2 separate regions of the Homo sapiens genome follow, and region 1 is linked to region 2. Evidence: promoter capture Hi-C in 16 types of primary human blood cells and fetal thymus (Javierre and others, 2016). All regions are on one chromosome and are shown on one strand. The core of a region is centred on a gene start or on the middle of the fragment in contact, and the rest is flanking DNA. Distances in the headings are between cores, read along the strand shown. Region 1 overlaps TTLL7 (tubulin tyrosine ligase like 7). Region 2 holds the start of CCN1 (cellular communication network factor 1).

What was found. The method cuts DNA at HindIII sites, captures the fragments that hold promoters and counts their contacts. A CHiCAGO score of 5 or more calls a contact.
Region 1: a contact is called between a fragment that was not itself captured here and the fragment with the promoter of CCN1 in region 2, in 1 of 17 cell types (activated CD4 T cells). The highest score is 6.5, in activated CD4 T cells.

The regions. Positions count from the first base shown.
Region 1 is chr1:83,950,548-83,958,116 of GRCh38, forward strand. It overlaps TTLL7 (tubulin tyrosine ligase like 7), which reads right to left. Exons shown (of 21, transcript NM_024686.6): 2 at 1,640-1,840; 3 at 1,298-1,429. The coding sequence starts at 1,664. Among named protein-coding and RNA genes, the nearest start is that of TTLL7-IT1, 30 kb to the right of the region's middle. The HindIII fragment of the contact is 3,276 bases long and covers 4,593-7,569 here.
Region 2 is chr1:85,579,153-85,585,794 of GRCh38, forward strand. It overlaps CCN1 (cellular communication network factor 1), which reads left to right and starts at 1,609. Exons shown (of 5, transcript NM_001554.5): 1 at 1,609-1,895; 2 at 2,213-2,426; 3 at 2,776-3,132; 4 at 3,264-3,472; 5 at 3,588-4,798. The coding sequence starts at 1,833. The coding sequence ends at 3,890. RefSeq lists enhancers at 1,177-1,699, 1,430-1,479, 2,746-3,267 and silencers at 1,590-1,719, 2,150-2,209, 2,220-2,269, 2,280-2,329. The HindIII fragment of the contact is 3,344 bases long and covers 930-4,273 here.

The DNA of each region.
Region 1 (7,569 bases), core at 4,981-7,480, 1.6 Mb before region 2:
AAACGTTTATGCTCAGAGGAACGTTTCCTTTTTAGTACAAACTATTCATGTGTTCCTCTCCAATCTAGATTTTACAATTAACATATTGGCATTTTTCTTCCACTGAATTTCAAGTGTGGAATAAAGATAAGCAGAAGACTTCAGGTAATTTTTGGCTTCCAACAGAATCCTGAGTCTTAACAGAATGGTGTAGTCCCAGGTGACAGTGTACAATCCCAAGAGTTGGGGAAAGGAATATTCCTCTCTCATCTGTCACAGACCACCATGCAGCTTTGGCATCCTGAGGACTCAGCAGCTGCTGTGCCACCTACAGCTCATGTAGAGAGCAAGGGCAATAGCAACACAGACTATTCCTTACCTGGCTCACAAGCAGAAAACAATAACAAATTCAGAAGAGCATGTCAGGAGCACAACTGTTCCTGAGTATATGAGAGACACTGCCTGCAGCATCTCAAAGATACCTGGGAAGACTTTAGTGAGATAAATGGAACTCCTGGCAGTTACGTTTAGAAGGAACGTAGGCTGGGCACGGTGGCTCACGCCTGTAATCCCAGCACTTTGGGAGTCCAAGGTGGGCGGATAACGAGGTCAGGAGATAGAGACCATCCTGGCTAACACAGTGAAACCCCGTCCCTACTAAAAATACAAAAAATTAGCCAGGTGTGGTGGCGGGCGCCTGTAGTCCCAGCTACTCGCGAAACTGAGGCAGGAGAATGGCGTGAACCCGGGAGACGGAGCTTGCAGTGAGCCGAGATTGCGCCACTGCACTCCAGCCTGGGCGACAGAAACTCCGCCTCAAAAAAAAAAAAAGAAGAAGGAATGTAATGTGTTACTTAAATTTGGGTATTTATGTATACACAAACCCATGAGGCTAGGAACATTCAGGTTATATATGAACATTGGAAAGATCCATTTTTTCTTTACATTCATAAATTCAAATTTGTCAGGTCAGTCACATATAAACCTATCTTATTATGAAATTCACAGCTTGAAGAGCTGACAAAATTAAACTTCAAAGAAAAATACAATGCCAAGTCCCTTTTTTCAGCTAAGCTGTCTAATCATATTAAGTGTTTGAACTGAAATTTTAGAAATCAGTTGGGATCTTTTTAAGGATATCATCTTCTACCACACAGAAAAAGAATCCTTCTAATATGTTAGAAATTTTATAGAAGGCATTTAAAAATCCATTATATAAAAGATAAGTTATCTCTTTGGATTTCTACATTGTTTTTAACACCAAATCAGTTTTTCCAGCAATTATGAGAATCCCATGATTGCTTCTAAGGAAACCTACCAATTTCAAACTTTGTCCCGGCAACATTTGCTGTAATGGTTCCCTTCTTTTTCTTCTTTCTGACTTTCCTTTTCATTGTGCTTTGATAAGGTAATTCTGTATTCAAATCCAGGGGAGAGGGTCCCTGAATAACTTTAAAAAAATGTAAAATAATCAGATAACACTGAAAACAAAAATCTATACCAGACAACACAAATACCACCCCCACCCCACACCAAGGTAAAATTACAAATCCTGGTACTTTAAAAAGTCCCCAATTAATTTTTAATACTTTAAAAATATTAACAGTAATGATGTATAACACCTCCATATTTTGTAACATAGTTAAGTCAATTTCCCTACCTCCTTCTTGAGGCAGAGATGGCATTATTGCCTGTGCTGATTAGCAAGCAGTGTGTGCTGCTGTACCAAGCTCTCAGGAAATCTGGAAATTCCACATTAGTCTAAGTAGGATATGGCCCCAAATCACTGAAAGTTCTTATCATATTATCTTGGTGGAATCCTCAGATTTCAGGATACCAAAGTTATGGGATAACAAGGTACCTGCAGTGATTTTAAAACAAGGTCATTTAGAAAAAACTTTTTTGAATTTTTTTTCATATATGCCAAGACTATTCTTTTTAAAAGTCAAGGTGAAAGTTAATGTGTTCAATCAACAAATAATTGTAAATCGGTTTATTAAACCTTACGCAAAATGCCAAGTGATGCTTTCCTATCCTGAAAGAATGCATAGTCTAGGGGAAGAAGTTTTATTAAGTCACGTGTCACATGTATATTCAATAAATAATATACTATACACAAACAATAACAGCAATAACAATATTCACTACTATTTATTGAACACTTATTATCTTAGGCATTTATATTATACCATTTAATCTTTCAACAAACCTGTAAGGTAGAAGCTTTTATCCCCATCTTACAGATAAGTTGAGCTTAGAAAGGACAAATTATTTTGTGTATCTTTACAAAGAAAATTACAACACAGAGATTAAAATGAAGATTCTTCTAATGTCAATGCCAGAGTGTCTTATTTAGAAACCCACACAACCTTCAACCCAATGCCTGAAACACTGCTTTTAATATGAGACAGTGAAAAGTGCCAGGCAGGGTAGAGGTCACATGTTGACAGAATGCAGAGAAGTGATTCCTATATAAAGGATTATGGGGGACAACTTAATAAAGTAAACCACATCTTGAATTGTGCCTTAAAAAATGAGAACAGTTTTGAAGGACAGAAAATGGGTGGGGTCATTATTATGATGATTTTATTCAGGCACACAGAGGAATGCAACAATCAATGAATTAATTTGATCTGGCTACATCTCAACATGGCCTATAGTACACTTTGCTTGTATTTTCATTGTAAATATATGAACGTAGGCATTTATGCCCTAACAATACCATATTGTTCAGTCTGTACTATCAACTTTCTAATTTCTCCTTATTGTAAGAATCCTTCAGTTCTTGTAAAATATCTATAAACACAATGAAAAATAAAACCTATTATGATAAGCAAAGGTATAATATCAACACCTTTATTAGATTGTCAAGTTTATCAGAAATTCAGAAACATCCAACATTCAGCTACATAAAACGTGAGTCCTATATCACTCCAAATATTCATTATTATTAATGTTTCAATATTAAAGAAAATTTAGGGTTTTATTTGTTCTCAGGTATCATTTTTACTAAAATGATTGTCTAGTATAATTCAATATCAAAACGGGGAACTTTTATTTATTACAGACCAACTGTAGGTAGGCATTTTATTAAGCATTTTAAATATTTTATTTCATTAACAAACTTTAAATTTAGGTATCATTTCTCCCTATTTTCCAGAAAAAGAAACTAAGGCTAGATAAGTTAAACAAATCAAGGTAACATGGCTTAGAAATAGAAAACTTAGACTTTAAACCCAATTCTAATTATTCTATTCATTAAGCTCCCCTATTTTCAGACCCCATGCTAACATAATATATAGACATATGAGAAGTTTCCAACCCTACTGCAGTACATGCCGCAAGATATGGCCATATTCTGGGAATTTGCAATACTTCAAACAGTGAATTCACAGTAAAACATCTCTAAACTGATCTCAGCTCCCAATGCCAAGCTGGAAACAGACTGGATCACTTCTCAGAATAAAAGAAAGGAGTAGTGTAAAGTTTAGTTCAGTTTCTTTCTGGAGGCTCTCTGAAACCTCAGGGAAGTAACTATTTGAGTTTACAAGTTTTTTGTCCAACATCTTGTTACTGGAGTAAACAAAGATCCCCTTTACAGTAACAGAATACTTATTACATTGAAAGTAGGTGACAAAGTCAACAAGACTTTAAAAACAAGCTTCACCTAACTATACTAGATTCTAAAAACAAATTTGTTAGTTTTTGACTTAAATAATAAGTCAAATGGCTGATTTGTACAGAGTTCAAAACAAGAACTTTTATCCCTTCCCCAAGGCATACAGGAATTTAAAGTTCTTAAAATTATACTATGCATATATGCGCTTTACTTAATTCCATTTATGCCTTAGTCAAAGTGCTTTAACAAACTCAAGGACTTCATTCAACCATGGCAATTCTAATCAGCTTTATTCTAAGCAAGAGATTTGAGATGACGGATTTATCCCACCACTCATTTGAAACCATAGTTACCTACTTTCCAAAAGCAGAAAACATGTTTCAGTTACCTCTGAAATGCTTTAAGCCAATGGCTTCTCAACCTTGGCTGCAAAGCAGAATTGCCTGAATGAGGAGCTTTTGAAAATCCTGCTGTCCAGGCCACACCCCAGAACTAAGTGGGGCCCAACCATCAGCATTTCTAAAGCTCTTCATGTGATTCCAGTGCAGCTAAGGTTGAGAACCTCTACTGTAAGCACACGATGACAATGCAACAAATAATAGCTAATTATAACAACACATGAAATTATAAGAAAAAAAGTAAAAGAAAACTCATAACTTTTTTAAAAAGACCAAATAGGTAAAAATTACCCACAAAAATCCTGTTTTCCTATCTAGTTCAAAAAAAAAAAAAACCAGAAAAAAATTTGACGGTGAGCACAAAATGATTTTTAAGATAAAGAAACAGAATTTATTTACAAAAGGAATCAATTTTCCAAAATTTCAAGCAAATGTTAACCTTGAACATAGAACTGTCAAGCACCAATAGATACACGAAATTGAAACAAAACCAAAATAATTCCAGTACATTTGTGCTAGAGTACCATTTCTTCCCTATTCTTCCGTTGAGCTTCTACCACACTTAAATTCCACATAAAATACCACTTTTTCCTGAAAGCTTTCTCTGATTATATCTGAAGAAATTCATTTCTCCCTCTTTTGGGCTATCACAGGCCTTATTTTTACCCTTATCATAATCACCTGCCAAAAAGATGGTTTTCTTCTATCTTGTTCACTCCTCCATTCCCAGGTCCTAGAATAGTGCCTGACCATAGTGTTCAATAAGCACTTGTTAATGTGTGCTATGGTTTGAATATTTGTGTCCCTCCAAAATTCATGTTGAAACATAGTCCCCAATGAAACAGTATGATGAGGTAGGACCTTTAGAAGGTGATTGGGTCCTGAGGGCTCCTTCCTCATGAATGGGAAGGACTTTATAATCAAGGCTTCACACAACCTTTCCATCCCTTCCACCATGAGAACACAGCATCCATCTCCTTCAGAAGGTGCAGCAACAAAGTACCATCTTAAAAGCAGAAACAGCAGCCCTCACCGTCAATAAACCTGCCACCACCTTGATGTGGACTTCCCAGCCTTCAGAAATTTGAGAAATAAATTTCTATTGTTTATAAGTTATCCAATTTGTGGCGTTTTGTTATAGCAGCACACACGGGCTAAGACACTGAGTTAATAAATCGGTTAATTAGCCAGGCACCATGGCTCATGCCTATAAATAATCCCAATACTTTGGGAGGCCTAGGCAGGAGGATCACTTGAGACCAGGAGTTTGAGACCAGCCTGAGCAACATCTCCACAAAAATTTAAAAATTAGCCAGGCATGGTGGTGCCTGCCTGTAGTCCCAGATACCTGGGTGGCTAAGAAGGAATGATAGCTTGAGCTAGGGAGGTCAAGGCTGCAGTGAGCTGTGTTCATGCCACTGCACTACAGCCTGGCAGCAGAGCGTGTCTTAAAAAACAAACAACCAATCAATTCATGAGAGCTGAGAGAAAAGAGAAATAGTCATCAAGCTCTGAGAAGCAAATACATGTAATTTACAATATATTACTTTTCACTTTAAAAAAATTTTATTTATGTATTTTGTTTTATTCATTTATATTGTTTTTTAGAGACAATCATAGCTCACCGTAATCTTGAACTCTTGGGCTCCACAATCCTCCTGCTTCAACCTCCCAAGTAGCTGGGACTACAGGTGTACACCACCACAACAGGCTTTTATTATTATTTTTATTTATTTATTTATGTATTTATTTATTTATTATTTTAGAGATGGGGTCTCACTATGTTGACCAGGCTGGTCTCAAACTCCTAGCCTCAAGTTATCCTTTCGCCTCAGCCTTCCAAAGTGCTGAGATTACAGGCATGAGCTACTGCACCTAGCCCACTTTTTTTTTTTTTTTTTGACACGAAGTTTTGCTCTTACTGCCCAGGCTGGAGTGCAATGGCACAATCTTGGCTCACTGCAACCTCCGCCTCCCGGGTTCAAGTGATTCGCCTGCCTCAGCCTCCCAAGTAGCTGGGATTACAGGCATGCGCCACCACACCTGGCTAATTGTTTTGTATTTTTAGTAGAGACGAGGTTTCTCCATGTTGGTCAGGCTGGTCTCGAACTCCCGACCTCAGGTGATCCGCCTACCTCGGCCTCCCAAAGTGCTGCGATTGCAGGCGTGAGCCACTGTGCCCAGCCCTAACCCACATTTTTAAGTGGAAAAAGCAAAGTACATAGAAGTTTACATATTACACTGCCACTTGAGCAAACCAACAGAGGAATATATGGAACATATCCACTGAGCAGTTGTGGCCTGCTATGGCTAGGGGTGGGGCTAAGGGAGACTTACTTGTACTTACCTTTAGTACTCTGTATATGTATTACCTGTTCAAAAAAGTAAAATATATGTGATAAAATTTTGTATCAATATAATCATGTTGATAACCAAAATCATCAAACTGTGTTCTCCATTTAAGTGAAAATACCTTTATTTCATTTAAATGAAAGTATAATATGGTAGAAAGAGCACTGAACAAGGAGTCAAATCAAATTCCTATCCTTTAATTTTCCACTTAGCAGATATAAATTCTTAGGCTGCAAAAGTAAAAGATTTATTCTTTCCACCCCTAAAGTCTAAAATGGCAACCAATGAAGATAACATTGCTGATATATTTTATGGCAAAAGATGAAGACAAACTTCTTTTATGTAAAAGAAGGAAACACAAAGAAAACTCAGACCTTCTCCAGCAACCCTCAATCCATACCCCAGTAAACATAATATATGAGGTCTTTGTACATTAATTTTTAGCTCACCCAAAGATTACTAAAATAATCAAACAAAAAGTCAAGAGGATCCAAAAATAGGGTTAAGTTAAAAATATGTAAAATAATATTAAATAAAAACATAATAAGAGCTGTTTTGTTGTGACAAGAGGAAGGAGAAAAGAACCAGTACAAACCAGTATCTACTTTCACATAACTTTATTTAGTCCACCCAACAAATACCCAGTACCTTTTATTCCCATTTTATATATGGGAAAATGTAGGCTCCAAGGTTAAGAAACTTGCACAAAGTCACACATCTAATAGGTTGAAGTGGTTTGTGGCTTCTACCTATTAGAAGAAGTATGGGAAGGAAACCCATATTCCTTCCCACTTTTTGTGCTACCTTCAAAATTCAGCCTTTAAATATAACATATTGAAGATTTCGCAAAGATGCTTGATTTTGTTCGACTGAATCTACGTTAAAAGCTGGAGCCCAAGGACATAGTGAGAAGGCAGTCCTCTGAAAGCCAGGAAGATAGCCCTCACCAGGAACCTAATTGTCTTGAGCCTTTTTTATCTTAGACTTCCCAGCCTCCAGAACTGTGAGAAATAAATATCTATTGTTTAAGCTACCTAGTCTATTATACTTTATTATAGCAGCCTGAGCAGACTAAGACATTGAGTCCAGTCTGCCCCTGGCTTCACAGAGTAGATAATTAAACTCTATCCTGAGCTTGCTATGGATTGTAACAATGATAATGAGGAAGAGCAAGAAGACAACAAAGAGGAAGAGAAGGATGGGGTTGATATCATCACTTAT
Region 2 (6,642 bases), core at 359-2,858:
GTGTTTTCATCCTGACAGATTCTCATTGTGCTTATCAGGAAAGTCAGCATTAGCACTAAGGGCCTTTTCAAGCAAGACTGCTAAATTATGAAGTCTGAATAGCCTTAAACATTAAAAAGGATAAGTAGTTATCCTAGAGCATATGAGTCTTACATGATAATTTTTATTAAAATTATGCAAAAAGTTTTTGAAACTTGCAGGGAAAGTTTATCAATCACACTAATGGTATTGGTGATGTTCAAGTAAATTGTCTTGTGGTGGGGTCTTCTACTGAGTGTGTTGCAAGTAGAACGGGATCTTAAAATCTGCTGACATTTTTACTGCAAAATATTACATCCTAAATCTCTTTTCTGTACTTGGAGAGAAGGGCATTGCAATTCATTTAAAATGGGAGGCTTCCAGTGGTCCCTAGGAAAGGAGTTAAAAACCCCACAAAATGTCCAGCTTGAAGGAGTCTGCTTTTCCCAGAGATTCATAGGGCACAATGGTCCTGGAATCTGGTTTGGCCTTGCGGTCTTTGCAGGTGATGATTTCAGGCCACTCCACGGTGGTCTCCTGCACTTCTGGCTGGCTGCTTGGTTAGCATAGCCTCCTGCCCGCGGAGGGAGGCGGGAAGGGCTTACCCCGTCTCCTGCATCCGTGAGGAAGTATAAGTCAGCCTCCCGGAGAACTCCCCGCGTTCGTTTCCTCTCGGACTTCCAACCCAGGCAGTGGGCTGGAACTAAAGTGGGAACCTCCAAAAACAAACAAGTACAACATACCCAAAAGAGGGAAGGGCTGGAGGAGTGGGGGAGACCTCTGCCTGGGAATTTGCCAGACGATGGGCAAGTTTCCCCCCGCCCCACCCCCCCCCCGCCTTTTCATTCATAAATGCCACTGTGGGTATTAATTTGCAATTCACTGAACTTTGCTAATAAACATCATGCCAAAGCTTTGGGACTTGTTCCGAACACGCCTCTTTGAAGTCCACAAATATTCCTGACTCAGAGACACACTCCTCTTCCCCGTTCTACTCTTTCAACAGATAACTTGCCTCTCACCTTCGCTGTAAAAAAGCAAACAGCTCACTGCCTTCCCGGGTGAGGGCTTCAGTGGCTGCCCGGTCAACTCGCATCACCAAACAAAACGACTTTTGTTCCTCCCTCTCAGGTCCTCCCACCCACCCAGTCCAGGCAAAGTTCTGAACTGGCCCCCCTCGCCCCTCACGACCCTCCAACTACCATCACCACCATCACGCCCCAAAGAACCCTTCCCAACATAAGTCGTAATTTAAGGTGGAAAAAACGAACTGTTTTCTTGACGGGTCTGGGACACACACACACACACACACACACACACACACACCCCCCGAACTGTTTTCTTGACGGGTCTGGGAGACAGACACACACACAGACACACACACACACACACACACACACACACACACACACACACACACACACACACAAAGGTGCAATGGAGCCAGGGGAGGCGCTTGGCAGCAGCCCGCGCCAACCAGCATTCCTGAGATGTTTGAGAATTCTGGAACGCGCAGACAGAGCCGACGTCACTGCAACACGCGGCGCCTCCGCCGGCCCGTATAAAAGGCGGGCTCCGGGGCGCCTGGGCAGACCGCGAGCGAGAGCGCCCCCGAGCAGCGCCCGCGCCCTCCGCGCCTTCTCCGCCGGGACCTCGAGCGAAAGACGCCCGCCCGCCGCCCAGCCCTCGCCTCCCTGCCCACCGGGCCCACCGCGCCGCCACCCCGACCCCGCTGCGCACGGCCTGTCCGCTGCACACCAGCTTGTTGGCGTCTTCGTCGCCGCGCTCGCCCCGGGCTACTCCTGCGCGCCACAATGAGCTCCCGCATCGCCAGGGCGCTCGCCTTAGTCGTCACCCTTCTCCACTTGACCAGGCTGGTGAGTTGGACTCTCCTTTTGCCACCTATTCCCCGTCCGCTCTCCAGCCCCTTCCCCTGGTCCCAGATTGCCCACGGCAGGAAAAGTTAAAAAGTTCGCGATCGTTTGCGGGTAGCCGTTTCTTTAAGCACTCTCCCCCTCCCCCCGAAGACGTGTCGGGACCTCTTGGTGGGAGCAGCCTTCCGAGGTGGCCGGGCTGGACGAGATCAGAGGCTCCCCGTCGATAGGGTCGGAGACCCCCGTCCCTCACTGCGGCAGCCGCGGCGCCCCTCCTGCGCACCGCGCCGAGTCTCACGCGTATCTTCTCCCCCTTCCAGGCGCTCTCCACCTGCCCCGCTGCCTGCCACTGCCCCCTGGAGGCGCCCAAGTGCGCGCCGGGAGTCGGGCTGGTCCGGGACGGCTGCGGCTGCTGTAAGGTCTGCGCCAAGCAGCTCAACGAGGACTGCAGCAAAACGCAGCCCTGCGACCACACCAAGGGGCTGGAATGCAACTTCGGCGCCAGCTCCACCGCTCTGAAGGGGATCTGCAGAGGTAAGATGCTTGTGGTTTGGCCCCTTTAAAAAAAATACTAGTCCCCATAGTCCAGAAGTTTAGTAATTCTGAGACCATGTATGGTGATGCTTTGTTGTTGGTAGCTTGGCAGAAAGGCACATGATTTCAGCAGTCTGGAATGCAATTCAGTGTGTCTGGGCCCAACGAAAGCGCATACGGAAAAGTGATTCCTGACTAACTTATTGTTCTGGTCTGGAGTCTCCGGGGAATTGTAGGGAACTTTACCATAAATTGAATTTAACAGCAGAAAATATGTATGAGTTTCAGGCGGTGGTTTGGAATCTTAACTTTATCCCCTTCTACCTTTCTCTTTTGGTGATCTTTGCAGCTCAGTCAGAGGGCAGACCCTGTGAATATAACTCCAGAATCTACCAAAACGGGGAAAGTTTCCAGCCCAACTGTAAACATCAGTGCACATGTATTGATGGCGCCGTGGGCTGCATTCCTCTGTGTCCCCAAGAACTATCTCTCCCCAACTTGGGCTGTCCCAACCCTCGGCTGGTCAAAGTTACCGGGCAGTGCTGCGAGGAGTGGGTCTGTGACGAGGATAGTATCAAGGACCCCATGGAGGACCAGGACGGCCTCCTTGGCAAGGAGCTGGGATTCGATGCCTCCGAGGTGGAGTTGACGAGAAACAATGAATTGATTGCAGTTGGAAAAGGCAGCTCACTGAAGCGGCTCCCTGGTAAGTGGAGACTGAGCACTTCAGACACTGTACTGAGATGCATTTCTGGTCTAAATCTTTGTAGAAATGAGTGCTTGAGCCTGTTTGTGTCGGTATGCCTCTGAGAAGTCTTCCCTCTTATATGTCTCTAGTTTTTGGAATGGAGCCTCGCATCCTATACAACCCTTTACAAGGCCAGAAATGTATTGTTCAAACAACTTCATGGTCCCAGTGCTCAAAGACCTGTGGAACTGGTATCTCCACACGAGTTACCAATGACAACCCTGAGTGCCGCCTTGTGAAAGAAACCCGGATTTGTGAGGTGCGGCCTTGTGGACAGCCAGTGTACAGCAGCCTGAAAGTAAGTTCCTTCAGGGACGTGTAGACTGTTGCCTGGCAGGTGGGTGGGATGTGAACATCTTTTTGAAGAAAGAGAAATATCACCCCTAACTTTCCTTCTCTCCTTTCTCTTACAGAAGGGCAAGAAATGCAGCAAGACCAAGAAATCCCCCGAACCAGTCAGGTTTACTTACGCTGGATGTTTGAGTGTGAAGAAATACCGGCCCAAGTACTGCGGTTCCTGCGTGGACGGCCGATGCTGCACGCCCCAGCTGACCAGGACTGTGAAGATGCGGTTCCGCTGCGAAGATGGGGAGACATTTTCCAAGAACGTCATGATGATCCAGTCCTGCAAATGCAACTACAACTGCCCGCATGCCAATGAAGCAGCGTTTCCCTTCTACAGGCTGTTCAATGACATTCACAAATTTAGGGACTAAATGCTACCTGGGTTTCCAGGGCACACCTAGACAAACAAGGGAGAAGAGTGTCAGAATCAGAATCATGGAGAAAATGGGCGGGGGTGGTGTGGGTGATGGGACTCATTGTAGAAAGGAAGCCTTGCTCATTCTTGAGGAGCATTAAGGTATTTCGAAACTGCCAAGGGTGCTGGTGCGGATGGACACTAATGCAGCCACGATTGGAGAATACTTTGCTTCATAGTATTGGAGCACATGTTACTGCTTCATTTTGGAGCTTGTGGAGTTGATGACTTTCTGTTTTCTGTTTGTAAATTATTTGCTAAGCATATTTTCTCTAGGCTTTTTTCCTTTTGGGGTTCTACAGTCGTAAAAGAGATAATAAGATTAGTTGGACAGTTTAAAGCTTTTATTCGTCCTTTGACAAAAGTAAATGGGAGGGCATTCCATCCCTTCCTGAAGGGGGACACTCCATGAGTGTCTGTGAGAGGCAGCTATCTGCACTCTAAACTGCAAACAGAAATCAGGTGTTTTAAGACTGAATGTTTTATTTATCAAAATGTAGCTTTTGGGGAGGGAGGGGAAATGTAATACTGGAATAATTTGTAAATGATTTTAATTTTATATTCAGTGAAAAGATTTTATTTATGGAATTAACCATTTAATAAAGAAATATTTACCTAATATCTGAGTGTATGCCATTCGGTATTTTTAGAGGTGCTCCAAAGTCATTAGGAACAACCTAGCTCACGTACTCAATTATTCAAACAGGACTTATTGGGATACAGCAGTGAATTAAGCTATTAAAATAAGATAATGATTGCTTTTATACCTTCAGTAGAGAAAAGTCTTTGCATATAAAGTAATGTTTAAAAAACATGTATTGAACACGACATTGTATGAAGCACAATAAAGATTCTGAAGCTAAATTTGTGATTTAAGAAAACAGCGCTTCATGTTCATCAGAATATAAAGCCTAAGGGTCTCCATCACTCTGTGAGATGGCTATAATAATTTATTATTTTAATCACCAGGTTAGTGGGCATGCCACTTTAGTAGAGTAGAGAAACCCTTTAATGAAAAGGGGTAGTCCATAACTCAGGCTGCCCACATCCAGACCCATGGGCAAGATTGAATATAATTAATGTATTCTAAAGACTTGCTTGTTTATAACTTTATATTTTCCCAATACCGTTCCTAAAAATTAGAACTACTTAGAAATTTACCCTTGGCTGTTATGAGGAAAAATCTGAGTCTATAGGAGTCAGTTTGTTTTCACTAAATGAGCTTGAAGCATGACTTGTGTTAATCCTAATAAGCCGGTGATTAGGTAAACATGCTGTTAAATGCAAAGGAATGCAAGGAATTTCAACTACTTTTCCAATAGCGTGAGGGCCAAGCTACCCCATCCCCCTTTCCTTTTTATAATATACGTTATATTGATGGGGGAGGGAGCAGTTATATAGAGTTGGCTATTCAGAAGGTCAAAGGTCCAGAGCATTCCTAAAAGAAAGGGACCCAAATCATAGGTCTAGGAGAGGTTGAGAAGGCTGTGTCAATGTTTGTGAAAATGTCAGTAGTCTGTTTCAGAAGCATCTTCATCTTTAGAAAGCGCTGACAATAAACCTTTTATAGGGAGAAGTTTTCCTTTCATCATCACTGTTGGCTCCTGTTCAAATCCATAGTGAAATATTTCAGTCCGCACTTAGTTAAGAGAGTACTTGAGTTTTTAGGCAGAAGAGAAAGTGCTTTTAAAAGGAATGGAGGAGGACAGCTCCTGGGATCCTGAAGGGATTTTTCCAAGTAGATTAAATAAGATCCATACTTTAATGAAGACCCACAGAAAAATACTGCCTAAGAAATGGTTTTAAAGCCTTATGGAAATGCATAGAGGTTAATATAAATGCACTAGTAAAATCTATGGCCAAAAGCCTTCACTTCTGATTTTGACTTGCCTGAAATATTACAGCTTGTGCCTTCTGAATAGTCAGGTTTCTTGCCTGAGACATTCAAATGTTAAGGTATTTGAGAATTTAAACATCAGCTGGCCCAGTCGTGGATGCAGTTAAACTTGTCAGTGCAATGTAACGTGTGAAACATAATAAAGGTGTGAGGCTTTTGTGGTGCAATCTTGTTGAACAGACATCTAAATCCATAGGCAAGATTTACACATTCCCAAGCATCAACCCTGAAGTATTGCTCTCCAACACTGGAGTCCAACAAATTGCTTCTTATGCAGAGATCAAGGAGCAATATTTTACAGATCCTTTCAGTGTGCAGGGAAGTAGTATTTGTCCAAATAAGCTCAAATGTGAAACAGAACCTAGTATGGGAAAACACTGAATCTTTGGGTTATTAATTTCATCCTAGTAAATATAATGAGGGTGATTGAAAGTGCCAATTCCATTTACAATAAGTGTGTTCAATTAATAAAGAAGATGAATACAAGCAAATTATGTCTTTTGTTTAGCTATAGAAAAACCTGAAGAAATTAAAAGTAGTGGAGAATAAAATTATGATATTTAGAACACGTAAGTTTTACCTACATCCAGAATGGAGCTCTGCCCACTTTAAATATTGAGAAAACAAACCAAAAATTATGCATCTGCATATATGAAATAGAAGTTACATATAGAAATATTCATTATAATATATATGTACCTTCCCATGCACAGTAAAGACCTTGGGTTGTTCTTGCTTTTCAATCCAAAAGATCCTGGTGGTCTTGAGCTATTTTTTGGTAGAGATTTTAGAACTGAGAGAGTGATCTCAG